2 separate regions of the Homo sapiens genome follow, and region 2 is linked to region 1. The links are contacts of gene promoters, found by promoter capture Hi-C in human tissues and cell types (Jung and others, 2019). All regions are on one chromosome and are shown on one strand. Each heading gives the region's core, a stretch centred on a gene start or on the middle of the fragment in contact. The rest is flanking DNA. Distances are from core to core; before and after follow the strand shown.

What was found. The method cuts DNA at HindIII sites, captures the fragments that hold promoters and counts their contacts. A contact is called where the count stands out against the background at its distance.
Region 2: a contact is called between a fragment that was not itself captured here and the fragment with the promoter of WDR17 in region 1, in 2 of the 25 tissues and cell types used here (dorsolateral prefrontal cortex and hippocampus).

What each region holds. Positions count from the first base shown.
Region 1 is chr4:176,063,412-176,070,688 of GRCh38, forward strand. WDR17 (WD repeat domain 17) reads left to right here and starts at 2,430. Exons shown (of 29, transcript NM_181265.4): 1 at 2,430-2,668. RefSeq lists a silencer at 2,306-2,685. The HindIII fragment of the contact is 11,750 bases long and covers 1-7,083 here.
Region 2 is chr4:175,915,252-175,922,669 of GRCh38, forward strand. The region is part of intron 3 of LOC107984113 (a long non-coding RNA gene); the gene reads right to left. It also overlaps a transcript of GPM6A not described here. Among named protein-coding and RNA genes, the nearest start is that of GPM6A, 110 kb to the left of the region's middle. The HindIII fragment of the contact is 5,293 bases long and covers 3,356-7,418 here.

The sequences.
Region 1 (7,277 bases), core at 1,180-3,679:
ACATTAAATACTGGTTGAATAAAAGAATAAAAAATCAGAGTAAAGAGATCTTTGTTTTATAAATTAGGTATATTGTTCCTCTAGATCTAATCTAACTATAGTTGTGATTATTTAAATCTGTTCAAAAGGAATGAACTAAATTCTGGTAAAGGAATAAGAGTCCTGAACTGGGAGACCGGGATCACTCTATCAAAATCTGCTGCTAATATGACTGGAGATTTAAACACCTTCATCTTTAAATTATGAGTGCACAACTAGATAATTTCAGTTGTCTCATTCAATTTTATGTTTCTTTCTTTTTCCTTTTTCTTTTTTTTCTTTTTTTTTTTTGAGACGGAGTCTCACTCTTGTCACCCAGGCTAAAGTGCAGTGGCGCAATCTCCGCCTTCTGGGTTCACGCCATTCTCCTGCCTCAGCCTGCCGAGGACCTGGAAGTACAGGTGCCCGCCACCACGCCCAGCTCATCTTGTATTTTAGTAGGAACGGGGTTTCACCACCACGCTGCCGTCAAACTCCTGACTTCAGGTGATCCGCCCACCTCGGCCTTCCAAAGTGCTGGGATTACGGGAGTGAAACACCGCGCCCGGCCGGTTTTTTGTTTCTTAACTGGAGAGCTGGAGCCATTATGAGCAAAATAAACATAAAAGATTTTTTCCGTCCAACCGATGGACTAAGCTAGACGTTGTATCTTCAGCATTTTCTCTTCATGTACACCATTGACTATTCAGCACTATACCTAGCAAATATCAGTCATAAATGAAAACTATAGTCTGTTTTCACAGAAATGTTTCTTGTGATTTTCCCTCTTCGCTATTCTTATTTTCATTGTCTTAACTCAGGTCATCAGCATCTTTTCCCATGAACTACTGAATTTTTCTCCTAACAGACCATGTTCTTCATCTTCCTGCATCCCATGTATCTCCAATGTTTCCAAGGTGTCTTTCTTGATGAAAAAGCACTGATTTTATAAACTTCAATCTCTTCCTTTGGTTTAGAGGTTAAAGCCTAACCCATATATAGAATTCTGCATCTTTCCCAATCAAGTTTTCTTATTTTTCTAGTACAGTCTTTTGCCAATTTCCATCTTCCTTCTTATCTTTGGATTCACATCCCCAACTCCGGAGAAGGCAAAAACATCAAATTTATTTACATCAATCGTTTATTTTTTCCCACTTTATGCTTTTGGCAATGCTGCTCCTGCTGCATAGTATACACTTTCCCCTTTTTATCAGGTGAAATTCTACCTATTTATAAGTCCCTGCTCAAATACTAATCATATTGAAAGCTTCTCTGAATACCTTGGAAGAAAAAGTTCTGCCTCCCTCATCTGAAATCATCTCATAGCACTTTTATGTAACCCTATTTTAGTACTTAACACATTGAGTTATATTTAGTTATTGCCCTTATACTTTCTCTGGTAGATTATGTGCTAATTTCTTTCTTTCTTTATCCATCTATCCATCAAGAATTAATTGAAGACCTGCTATTCATCAGATACTTTGTTAGAATATAGGGGACGGAGTTGTAAGAACTGATTTTAGCTTTAACAAGTTTATTCTTTATATGGAAATCCAACATTTAAGTTAATTTTAATTTACAATATAGAATATTGAGTGCTGTGGTAGGTACTCGTCTCTGCAGAGAATATTTTGGAAAAAAGGAGCATTAAAATCTACTGCATAGGAAGGTAAGAATTAGGCCCAGGGACTTTCTCTGGTTGAGGTCGACCATTCATTTATTAACTATTTAGAGTGGAGTATAATTAATTCTCGATAGATGTCATTAAATACACTTTGTTTCGAGTACGTCGAGGCTTATTCTCTCTAGTGTGTTGGATAAAGGCCACAGGTAGTGAAGATATTTCAGAGATGTGAAGAATCCAGTAGGAATGACAACATCCAGCACTTCCATTCAACCAGATCCCACAGGGAAAATGTCAGTTTTGTGAAGGCAGATACATTAACCACATACAACTCGATTAATATAAACAAATAATCTTATCCATTGAGCTCTCCCACAGACCTTCTTGGGCCCAATCAGACAATAATGAAGTGCAGGCGAGACAGCATTCTGCACTCACATTCCAGGCACTGGTTCAAGTCCCTCCTCCAGGTCCCTCAAGAAAGAGACAGGATGACTGACTTACTGTATATTTGACTCATTTTCCTAGAAAGTGCAGACTCGCTATAAAATGTGTTAGGTGGTGAGAACGCTGATGGTTCACCGTTTTCCTCCACTTTCAGCCTCAGTGCAAACCCTCTGCCCAAAGCCTCGCTCCAGTACGGAGGAGCTGCGCCTTCAACACACTTTCTCTGTTGCCAGGTAACCACTTCTCCCTCAGCCTAGTCTCCAAGGGTCACGAGCCACTTCCGCCTCCCCCTCTCGGGCGCTCCAATCAGCGACCTGTGTAGCTGTCACGTGGGCCTCTGGGGCAGACCCTGGAGATCGGGCTCGCGGCGCCTTCCATCGTGGCTCCGCGCTGGGGCTTGCGGAGCACGCTTCCCGCCCCTCGGAGCCCGCGGGCCCGGCCGCCCCGCCCCCGGGCGCCCTGAGCGAGCAGGCGGGGAGGGCGGGGAGGGTCCGCGCGTTGGTGGTGCTCGCCTCGCAGCTGCGCCCGCCGGCTTCAGCACCTTCCGCTGTCCGCCGCTGCAGCCGCCTCCTCCTCCAGGTAAGAAGCCGGTGGGGCCGCAGAGATACCAAGGCAAGCTCAGGATTGATGTGGGTGATGCTGGAACTGTCGCGGCGTCATGCGAGAGGGGCTCTGACCTCCCTGTGATCGCGGACCAGGGTAATGTACGTCCTGCAGGGCTTTGCACACCATGGTGCCTGATGAGATAATCAACTGAGTTTTAGAGCCACACACCTGATTCTTACAAGGCACAGCAAGCAGCGAATATTTATGTATCTAAACTACCATTGCAGTGTAAACTGTGGACATTTCGAGGGACATTGTTTTATTTTTATGGCTATTAAGTATATGTCTAGAGCCTAGGTTGCTGTTCTCATCCCTCCGCCGGCCAGACACTTCTGTATAGATCATTTACCCCTTTGAAGATGGACTTATTAGTAGGGTTGTACTAAGAAAGGTTTGAGTAAAAAGGAAATGCGTTCCAGAAAAAAGACGGTATTGGATATAAGGCAGGTATACTATTTATTAAGTAGATCGTAAAATAGAATCTTTGCTGTCCTCCCCTCTCCAAAATCAGACTTGTTTTGCTTGCAAAGATTGAAAGGAACAAACAATTTAAGGAGACTTTTTAAATATATTAATTAAAAGCAATTGATTCGAATGAAAAGTAATGAAAAGTCCGACCATGCATCAAAAATAAATTATTTTGCATATTAATATATACATATATACTATATATATTTAACAAGGGTTTGAAGAGAGATACTACATTTCTGAATCTTTCATAAATACCCTTTAGAGAAAACTATCAAAAAAACACAAGTTCGTTGTAAAAGGATACGAAACGGCCAAAGCCCAACAATGTGAGATTATAGTTGCCGTTCTTAGCACTCTAATAACATTTCTGCGTTGTAAAAATTAGAAAATAAATGACAATGAATTTATGAGAATTTATAAATTTGAACTCCACAAGAGTTTAAGCATTAATTTATTTGTAGATTTATGCCTTATCATTACCCTGCTTGCCAGGAGCTGATGCTGGGCGGGTGGTGAAACAAACTCTGTGGAGAAAGCACTCTTACATCCTTTTGAGATTCTGCCTCACTGGCCTAAGTGTTCAAGAAAATGGATATAGTTATATCTAACTGTTTTGAAGGCAGACGTCTGAGATAGGTGGTCTGAGAACCTTTCCCCTCCTATCATCTAAAATTAAATATAGTTATTAAGTGCTTTTGAAAAGTTGTCAATTCGTTAATATTTTGGGAAACATCCTTTACTGGATTGTTTGGAGATTAATGTTACAAATGGTAGCTTTAGAGTTCCTGGGAAGTTTTAAAGCAATGACTTATTTCAAAGGGCATATACGGAAAGTAAAGCTCTTGAGTTCTGCAAACGTAATTATGTAAAAATAACTAGTTGAATGTTATTGTTTACATTGTTCTGACTTTCTCTTGTGTTGATATTAATAGAACTGCTTAAAAAACTGTGGACATCTGAAGAAGACGTTAAATATGCTTACTTGAAAGTTTTAACATTCTTTATTCTTCTTATTTCTAATGATAAATAGTGGTGTTCTAAATATTTTTAAGTTACCCATTAGTCACATAAATAATTCCATAGATTAGAAAGCCATAAATTAATTTAGGCCAGAAAAACAATGCTCCCAGTAGAGGGGAGACTAGGGCTAGATTGCTTTTGTTGTTGCTGTTTTCTACAGACTCTATCTTGTATCCTTTAGTCTGGGAAAGGAGGGACAGGGCCAGTGGCAGTTTTTTAATTACTTGGAGAAGTTTAAGAACAGGTTTCTGTTTGTTTGTTTTATGGTTTTACCCTGATGGATACTAGAAGTCCAACATGAATGATTAGGTTGTCACTATTAATGAAATGTGTAAATTCTCCAGAGTACCTGATTTTGTTGCCTAAATACTTTAATGACGACTAAAATGTAATTCTGACAGTTTTGAAGGATTCACATTTTCATCCTATATTCCAGAATTTCTTTGAAATCTAACATATGCAAGAAAGGTAACGCTTTATCAGATTACTGAATTGTAATACTGAATACTTAAGAGTTTACCCAGCTATTCATGATAATTATGTATATGGAAGCATCATTGCTACTTTTGACCACTGCTGAATTATCTCATTTTACATTTTGTATACCTCTTCCATTGAACAGATGGAAATATTAAAGTGAAGTCATGTATCTTCCAGTACGTCTTCAGGAACAGAGATTTCATCGAAATTATATTAATTTATAGAAATCATATGAGGATAGGCTGCGTGCGGTGGCTCATACCTGTAATCCCGGCACTTTGGGAGGCTGAGGCAGGCGGATCACCTGAGGTGAGGAGTTTGAGACCAGTCTGGCCAACATGGTGAAACCCCATGTGTACTAATAATACAAAAATTAGCTGGGCGTGGTGGTGCACGTCTGTAATCCCAGCTACTTGGGAGGCTGAGGCATGAGAATCTCTTGAACCCAGGAGGCCCGGAGGTTGCAGTGAGCCAAGATTGCGCCACTGCATGCCAGCCTGGGCGACAGAGCAAGACAACGTCAAAAAAATTAAAGAAAAGAAAAAGAAAAAAAGGAGGATATTGGAAGGGATTTTTTATTAATTCATGCTCCTTTTCTTTTGTATCAGAAACATATGAAACTTAAGATTTGGTTGGTACTTTTTGATACCCAAGACTGTGCTTTATCCTGTTAAAATAGTATCGTGATTATTCTTTCATTGTTGATAAAACTATTCCTTGAAATTTGTGAGCAAGAAATTAGATACGGATACCTGAAGAGAATTTTAGAAATTCTCCCAAAGAATCTACTCTATAAGGAAACAAAACCTAGAGAAAAACATTTTTCTTATTTGAGTTTACTTAAAATGTTCACGAAGGACTTGCAACTTTGGTAATAAAAATTGGTAGAAATAATATAAAATGATCAGCTTTGTATAGTAAAAGAAAAATTCCCATCACGATTAATTAGAAAGATTTGAAAAGTTTCCATGCTTAAAGCATGGGCTGTCACATTAGAAGGCAGAGTTCAGGTTGTTTTCATCTGATTTCAGTGACTAGACAGGTATAATTTCAGTGACTAGTCAAACATTTCAAATAGGCTAGATTTTGTAAGAAAAAAAAAGAACTTGATATTGGAGCCACAGCTGGCACCTGCCTTCCAGATGTCACATTATCAGCTACTTGAGGAAAATAATTTATATATATATATTGATAAAAGTCTTACTTTTTATTATGTTAAATGTACTTACAAAGTATTGTTCAGTAAGCTGTCTTATAAAATTCTGTAATTCTACATTCTAATTTAAAAAATGTACTGTAGAAATAGACAGTAATATAAATCTATAATTAAGATAATACAGGAGGTAATTTAACAATGTTATTTGCTATGATAAGGATGATTGATAATTGTCATGTTCGGATAAATTGTAGCAAAAGTGTAAGAAATAAATTTCCATGTGTCAGTGAAGATGTTATAACAGTCAATACTTGTTTTGTACATTCAAATGTTCTGAGATGGAGAACTCAAGATTGAGGTCCTTAAACAATTTTTCTTATGCTTAGGTTTATTGTTTTCTTCTTCCAGATTCTTCCCATTTTTTTTAGTTGTAAGCATGTACCAGTGTCCCAGGCAGACTCATTTACAATGATGTGTAGTAAGTTCAATTTCATATCACGCACACAGAAAACTTACTTTCAAATCGGAAAGTAGAAAATAATTTTTATTACACAAAGCACTCGTGTTTAACATGCTATTAAAAAAACCCTTCATTACAATACAAACAGCTCCACATGGAGTCTCAAAAAAATGAATAGTTGGTTAATAAGAAATAGCTAACATTTAATTAAGTTTGATTCTTTAAGATAAAACATTATGGATGACTTTTAATGAAAAGAGTTATGCAACATTTTATTTTTAAGGTAAACAGGTTTGAAGGGGTCATTTTGGAATTTATGATAGAAGGATCCTTAAGACCAGTTACTCTAACACCGTTATTCTGTTAATGAGGACACTAAACACATAAAAATTATGTTCTCAAAATTAATAAGGGAAAAGCTGGCTTATGTTCTACTTCTGAAGCTTTACTTGGGAGTACCATGAACTACTAAATAAATGAATTTATTCCTGAAAATATAATAGTGGATACGTTTCGTTAACATTTATATATCAATAGTAGCTTTTTGGGCATAATGTCTCACCTTCAAAATTAATTCATTAGCTCATGTTTAGGGGGAATTTTATGTTGGCTCAGAGCGTAATATTTGACTTAGGCAGACTAATATGTAGATTACCAACCTATCAGATCTGTGCCTGGGCCCTACCTTAGGTAATACAGCCCTTTACTTAGCAAATTAAAATCAGACTTATTTCAGGCCTCTGTCAATATATTGAATGCATATATTGAAGAAAGTTTCGAGTTTAGTTAGTTTATGTAGATCCTTTTTTCCCTTTTTTTCCACTTCTTTTTTCTTTTCTTTTTTTCTTCTGAGACAGGGTCTCCTGCTGGAGTGCAGTGGTGTGATCATGGCTCACTGCAGCCTTGAACTCCCAGGCTCAATCAATCCCCCCACAGCAGCCTTCTGAGCAGCTGGGACTACAGGCACGCACCACCACTCTTGGCTAATTTTTTTT
Region 2 (7,418 bases), core at 4,752-7,251, 140 kb before region 1:
ACCAGACAGGAGGCTATCCTTCCTTAATTAAAAAGGATTTTTTTTTTTTTTTTGACATGGAGTCTCGCTCTGTCACCCAGGCTGGAGTGCAGTGGTGTGATCTCAGCTCACTGCAACCTCTGCCTCCCGTGTTCAAGCAATTCTCCTGCCTCAGCCTCCTGAGTATCTGGGATTACAGGCACCCACCAGCACATGCGGCTAATTTTTGTATTTTTACATAGAGATAGGGTTTTTAATGGAGATAGGGTTTCATCATCTTGGCCAAGCTGGTCTCGAACTCCTGACCTCAAGGTGATCTGCTCCTTGGCCTCCCAAAGTGCTATAAGTCAATAAGAAAAAGACCAATCACCCTGTAGAAAAACTGACAAACAGGCAATTTCACAGATGAAGTAATAAAAATGATCAACAAAAATATAAGGAGCTAGGCACAATTTGATAAATGCAAATCAGTACAACAATATTATTTTTCATCCACCTCACTGGCAATACTCAGGGTATGGGGAAAAAAAGGGTATGAGAAACCAGACAACGCTGTCTGGTGATATGTTAGTCTTTTTGTGTTGTCCTTGGTAGTTGCTTTGGTTATTTGGTGGTTTGTTGTTTTGCTTTGTTGTTTGTGCATCTCCAAATGTGAATGTAGCCATGTGGACCTTACATTTGTCATCCTCTGCTACTTGCGTGCACACGGGGACTGGGTCATCCATCCATCTCCCTTCTCAGATTGAATGCTGAAGGGAAGGCTGATGTGTCATGCTCACCATTCTCTCTCACTCAGCCTGTTTTTATTGGATCAAAGTGTGTTATTCTCCTATCTCCACAGCCAAGTTCTCTGATAGTCTCACCATATAAAGTAGACACATGCAAAACAACAGTCTTCACAGGTCCCCGCTATGCAGGCCCCCAGGGTTCCCGATAGAAACCACATCTGTCCCTCCCTTTCCCGCATGCCACTTCTTCCCTATTTGTTTTCTGTGAGTTGCAATATACAGCGGAGAGCTTGGGTTTAAGAATACCATCCATGCTATACAAATACAAAAGTCTACCTTTCTGTTTAGTGCATCCCCTGACTCTCTTAGCCAAGGGCAAATGTGGATTAAAGGATCTAACGTATACAAGCTACTTAATTCCATCAGCTTTGGAGCTAAATCAAAATTATCCCATATTTTAGCAAAATGTGAAGTTTTGCTTTTCAGTAGTTTAGAATTTTGGTTTTTCTTTTTTTTCTGTACCTACTGTTTCAGAGGGAAGTTATGAGAACTTGTTAAAAAATGCTAACTGTAGATCATATGAATCAGAGTTCTTGAGACTAGTGCTAAATTTATATTTTATTTCCTTCATTCTGTATCACACCATGGGCATCCCTGTGAGAGAAAATAACCCAGGAGGCTGGCCTGAAGAGTGTATACATTATGGGGGGAAATATAATAATCTGAGCTAACACACACTTTCTAATTATAGAATCAGATGCAATCAATCAGAGGTCTCACATAGTTTCAAGCTTTACTAACATTTTCAAGGATAGGAGCAGTCAAGCGTTTCAGGTAACCAAGTCTAGATCCCATGACACTCCCCAAGCCCCTCCTTCCACATTAAAAACACAGTTTTCCTGGCCAAGAATAACAGGTGAGGTGCGGGAGAGGTTCTGCAGATTATTATTCACATAAAAGAGAATTTTTAAGTTATGAAACATCTTTTTATACCCCCAAAGTGTTTTGCTGTTTATGGGCATTCTCCTACCTCTTAAATCCATAGACCCAGGGTTGATTTACTATAAGCATTCTTTTAGCTAAGGATATCCTGTTAAAAGGATCCTGCTGATGCGATTAAGTCCTGGCAAATATCATCCGTCTATAGAAGTCCATTGAACAGGGAGGCTGGAGCAGGTCACTGGCCTTGCTACCTTTCCTCCAGCGGGTGGGGGTAGCAAGAAGGCATCACCTTGGTAAAGCAAGCGAATGGGTCCCAAGGCAGCTTCTTACCCTCCTCCCTCCACACAATCACAGTTTTGTTTTGTTTTTTTTTAATCTTTAAGCATCCTGAAATTTCAGATGCTCTCCCCATTTTAACATTCCTTATAAGAGCCATCTTCTTCCCCAAGCACTGCCCCTTGCCTGCATTGAAGGACCCTGCTACAGATGCTGCTGCTGATTTAATGTTGCAAGAAAAGGAATATTAGCAACAAATAAGCAAAACAATGAAACGAAGGGCTTGAGATAGCAAAAGAATTCCTATCAAAAAAAGGTAACATATGACCTAACAAGAACAAAGAAGGCAGAAACAGGCTGACTGGATTATACATCTGTCCATGTACGTTACCATAGTAGTGTGGGCGGCTATTAAAAATCCACCTAACAGATGATTACTCTTCATTCATCCTCCTTGATACAACATTCACCAAATGGGGAGGGGGTTGTCAAAATAATCCAGGATGGACATGTTAAAATGCGTGAGATCTGGTATGTGGGAGGAATGAGTCGGTGCAAAAAACACATAAAAAGACAATGGAAAAATAATACCAAATGGCTTAAGAAATCTCAACTTAAGGAGAAAAAAAGCTTTCTAAAGAAAACACTAGAGAGACAACAATGTTAAGTAGCCTTATAAGTCAATGTGTAATTTGTAAGAGATTATATACTATTATAATAATTTTTAAATAACTGAATCCTTCTTTCCCGGTTCCCTATTTAGTAAAATTTAAAACAGTTTTTAAAAAGTCTATCTCATTTTAAATAGTAACTGAAATAGCTGCTTTAGTGATAAATCCCATCAAGATAAAAGAGTAAATTACCATAATTCTTTTCCTAACATATTATATAAATCTTGATTCCCACAATGAAAATTTCTATAGAGAGCATATTTTACACGCATAACTTAAAAACCTGAGATTGAACATGGACAGAAAAATGAAAAAAAAAGAAACTTTATAATGAAGACATATTTCAGACACTCTTGATGATAACCATATGTGCAAGCTATGAATGTTTTTAAAAAACATTGGAGAAACTACAAAAATATATGCTAGGAATTTGTCAGATTTTAAGGATATGTAAAGTTTTGCTTAGGTAATGGAGCTGATAAAGCGGGCAGCAGCTGTTGAGTTACATGTGGAAGAGGCTTTAGGAGAAAAAATAGAATTGGAAAAGAAAAATCTTTAAGTAGGGAAAAGAAATGAGGCACACAAAATAACATCGCAATAGGTTTTAAGAAAAATTAGTATTCATCAAGAAGGTGCAGATACAGTTCCTGTCCTTAACAACAAAAAAAAAAAGCTACAAATGAATTCTGGAAAATATCTTAAATTATTGTTTCCCATTTTCCTGTGGAAGACAGTTTAGCAAGACCATAGAATGCTTGGAACTAAAGATAGCATTTCCTTAGTCTAAGATCTTTGGCTGAAAAGCTGTTAATTTAGTTTGCTGGAGTTTCCTAAGAAAACTGCATATCATGTTTCTTAATTCTTTTTGTCAAAAACATGTGTTTCCAGTAGGGTGTCTGAAATGCAGAAATGTATATTTAAATTTCTTTTAACAATTTGTGAAACAACAGCATATCACATGTTTTATCTTATGTCTCTAGTTATTAATAAGAAGGAATTATCATCACATCTATACAGCATTCTTTTATGATTTGTCTGCTTATATCCTTTACTTTTTATGAGCTACTGGTTTTTGTCTTATTATCTTATAAAATATATTTAAATAATATGGAGAAAGATTTTTATATACTTGTTTTATAGTCTTATATTTTGAAACAAAACTGAACTCACTAATAAATTGATATAAAACTAGGGAATGTGGGAAAATTGCCTTTTATCATTACGATAAGATAGGGTATCCTTTCAGCACACTTAATTTAACTGTATAGCTAATTAAAATATCTTCTCATTAAGGACTGCTGCCCATCACTTATAAAAAGAACTCAACCCTTCTCATGATTTTTCTTTTTTTTCCCCTTCTCATGACTTTTCTGGCACAAATGAGGTCCCTGGCAGTCTAGTAAAATATAATGAGTTTTTTTGAGGTACTTCTAAAAATTCTGTGTATCATAAAAGGTGACTTGTGGGTCTCACTCCACCATAACCTGCTTAAATCCAGGATCTCACCTTTTTAATCCAGCAAGATCCCCGGCCAAAAAAGATTAATGGGCCAGAAGAAGCTTAAAGAGCTTTTGACACTTTTACATAAACATTTCTAACTTAAAAATAGAGGGTCTTTTTATTTTTGGACCAACAAAACTTACCCTTACTTAATTAAAACCATCAGTGAAGTTTGCCAATGACTTTCCAGCAGGCTTGTAACTACCAGTATGCAAGGGTGAATAAAGAAAAATTAGGCCAAAGCTTTCATCTTTAATAAACAGAAGTAGTCAATAGGTGAGCCCATGACTGCTAATTTCCTTTCAAACATCCATTCTCTCCTTCTCTCTCACATTAACAGAATTCCCATTTACAACTGGACACACTCCTAAATGGTCACATTTCCCAAGCTGTGATGAAGCTGGGTACAGTTATTGACCAAGTTATGGACAAGGAGCTCTAACTATAACCAAGTAGGGATCCAATTCAGTCTGAAATCTTACTGCTGCCTCAGGACTCCCCTGTAATGGATAGCTATGTAGCCCCCCAAATTTCCTCATGTGTTTCAGATTAAAAAGCACCATCTATGTGAAAGATGGTTCAAATCATTATCTCCTGTCTAGACTTCCATCAAGGACGTTGTGAAGCAAAGAGAATCTTACTCTAGTGGACTCTTCCTTCTATCTTCTCATGTCTGGCCATCTTTGGTCATAAAAGGAAAGTAACCTCTAAAGGTGATGGAGCTTGGCTTACGCCATCAATTGTGCATGTGAGTATGTTTATGTCTGTATGTGTGTTTCTATGCTTGTGAACAGAAGGGGAAATTGTCCTTTCCAGGAAGGCAACATACAATAGAATCAGTATTAATTACTACTGATATTATTATTGCCACTGGGATCCTACATGTCTGGCAGGAATTTAGGACATAATGTTTAATTGATCCCACCTCTGCTACCAGTTGTGTTAGCCCAAACAAGTCACTTATCCTCTCTTGTGCTTAATTCTCTTACCAGTATAAAAGGGTTAATTACTTTTTAAAATGGTCTTATAAAATGACACAAAAAAATAAAGAACTGAGAACTGTTCCATGCATACAGCAAGCACTCAAAGAATGTTAGTAACTAATATCACTGGTAGTGTTAATCTAGATGATGATATAATTTGGTTATTTAGTCACTTACTGAGTTCAAACTATGTTCACAGAAACAATACTTAAACTACTGTTCATAAGAATTATACGGCTGGGCGTGGTGGCTTATGCCTGTAATACTAGCACTTTGGGAGGCCGAGGCAGGTGGATTGCCTGAGCTCAGGAGTTCGAGACTAGCCTGGGCAACATGATGAAACCCCGTCTTTACTAAAAATGCAAAAAACTAGCCAGGTGCGGTGGTGCGTGCCTGTAATCCTAGCTACTCAGGCGGCTGAGGCAGGAGAATCACTTGAACCCGGGAGGCGGTGGTGGCTCACTTGTGCCACTGCACTCCAGCCTGGGCAACAGAGCGAGAATCTGTCTCAAAAAAAAAAAAAATGCTTTGAATATACTCTAAAAGTCTCTGAAATATTATTGCTCTTTATTGAATTATATTGACATGTGTGATCAATTATAAATATGTTCTTGCATCAGAACATTGTCAAAGCATATGCTTCTACAATAGATGAGGAAACATAACTCCAATAGTAGTAGTATATTTATAAATAAGAAAATAATTTCCATCATGAAGAAAATTAGGATTATCTTTAACCAATCTGTTTATATGTTTAATGTGATATTTCACATTACTTGGAATTTCACACTGAAATCTTTATAATGTCAACTTAATTTTAACACTGAAATCTTTATAGTGTCAACTTAATTATTAATAACTTTCAATAACAAAAGATTCAGAATCTTCCTTTTTAATATTCAGTGTGATCTATTTAAAAAAAATCATCTCCAATCTTCAATTATCTAATCTCAAAAAATAATATTCCATCTCAATCACTTAATCTCAAATTCACTTAAATGTCAAATTTGGCTTTGCTTCTTATACACTCTGTATGCACTTTTTCCAATTCATTAGAGCACTGAAAAAGACAGTGGAAACATAATTTTGTTCATATATGGATAGAGAATTTCAGTATTTTAATCAGAGTCTTTAAGTAAATCCACGCATGATCCTGCCAAAAAAAAATCATGGACCATCATTCCCAAAGAAAAAAAATGAAATATAAATAAGATTACATAATCATAACCTGCTAAATAAGATGAAATAGCAAAGGCATCAAATAATTCCTAGGAAAAAATAGAATTATGCCTTCATTTTGTTTATTCAGTAAATTTAATGCATTTTGAAAATCCAGTTTTGTATGCAAGAATAGAGTGAGATGTATTTTACACCACAGAAAGTATTCAAATCCTGACCATGAGCCATCACCTTGTTTGCTGCACTAGCTTTCTTGCCTTTGTTTTTGGAGTGGAATTTTACATTTACTTATTGGAGTGTACCATATTTCCAAAAACAGCTAACAAAAATGGCAACACAAATTATATTAGCCTTATACAGCTGGTACAGGAAGTCTATATAGGATGGCTGTCCTTCTTCAGTACTTCATTTCTCTTGGGCAATAATCCAGGTCACTAGAACTAGAATGGGAGGGTAATCTGCTTCTCAGGGAGTAATAGAAGACCCAGTTTGTGTGGTAACTGAACACAAGCCTTGAAGACCAAGAGAGATGAGCTTAAATCCTGCTTGCCTACCTAATACTTACATGATTCATAATGTGGGGTAAAATATGCTTATGTAAAATGGAGCTTCTAATACATCAGGATTAATGTGAAGGGTTAATGTGAAGATTGTAAGAGAAAAGGTAATGTGAAATACCTGACACATGTTAGACCCTCAATTCATGTTAGCTTCCTCTCCAAGCTAAAGCAGTGTTTAGGGAATTTCTGTTAACACATAATGATACCCAAATGTCCTATAAGTCCCACAATGGTCTTCTTGAGTATCCTGATGTCAGCAATCAGTCCACATTAATAGATTTTTACCTCCTCCACATCTTTATGCTAAAAGTTCCCTTGGACTCTTCAGCCTGATATTAGTCCAGCTCCATAATTATCTCAGAGCCCTCAAAGATCCTAAGGTATTAGTCAGGAAGTACAAATTACCTTATTCTTGTATGTAGATAGAAGCCAAACTGGAAAGGTTCCCAAAGGCTTCCAGACTTACCTCTGCTCTGAAACTCACACCAAAAAGAAGAAATCTGATATTGGAGAAATGAAAACTTTTCCAAGGTGGTATAATGAAATAAAAGGAAGAAAGCAATTCAAGAAGCCCAATTTGAACATCTCTACATAGATGAA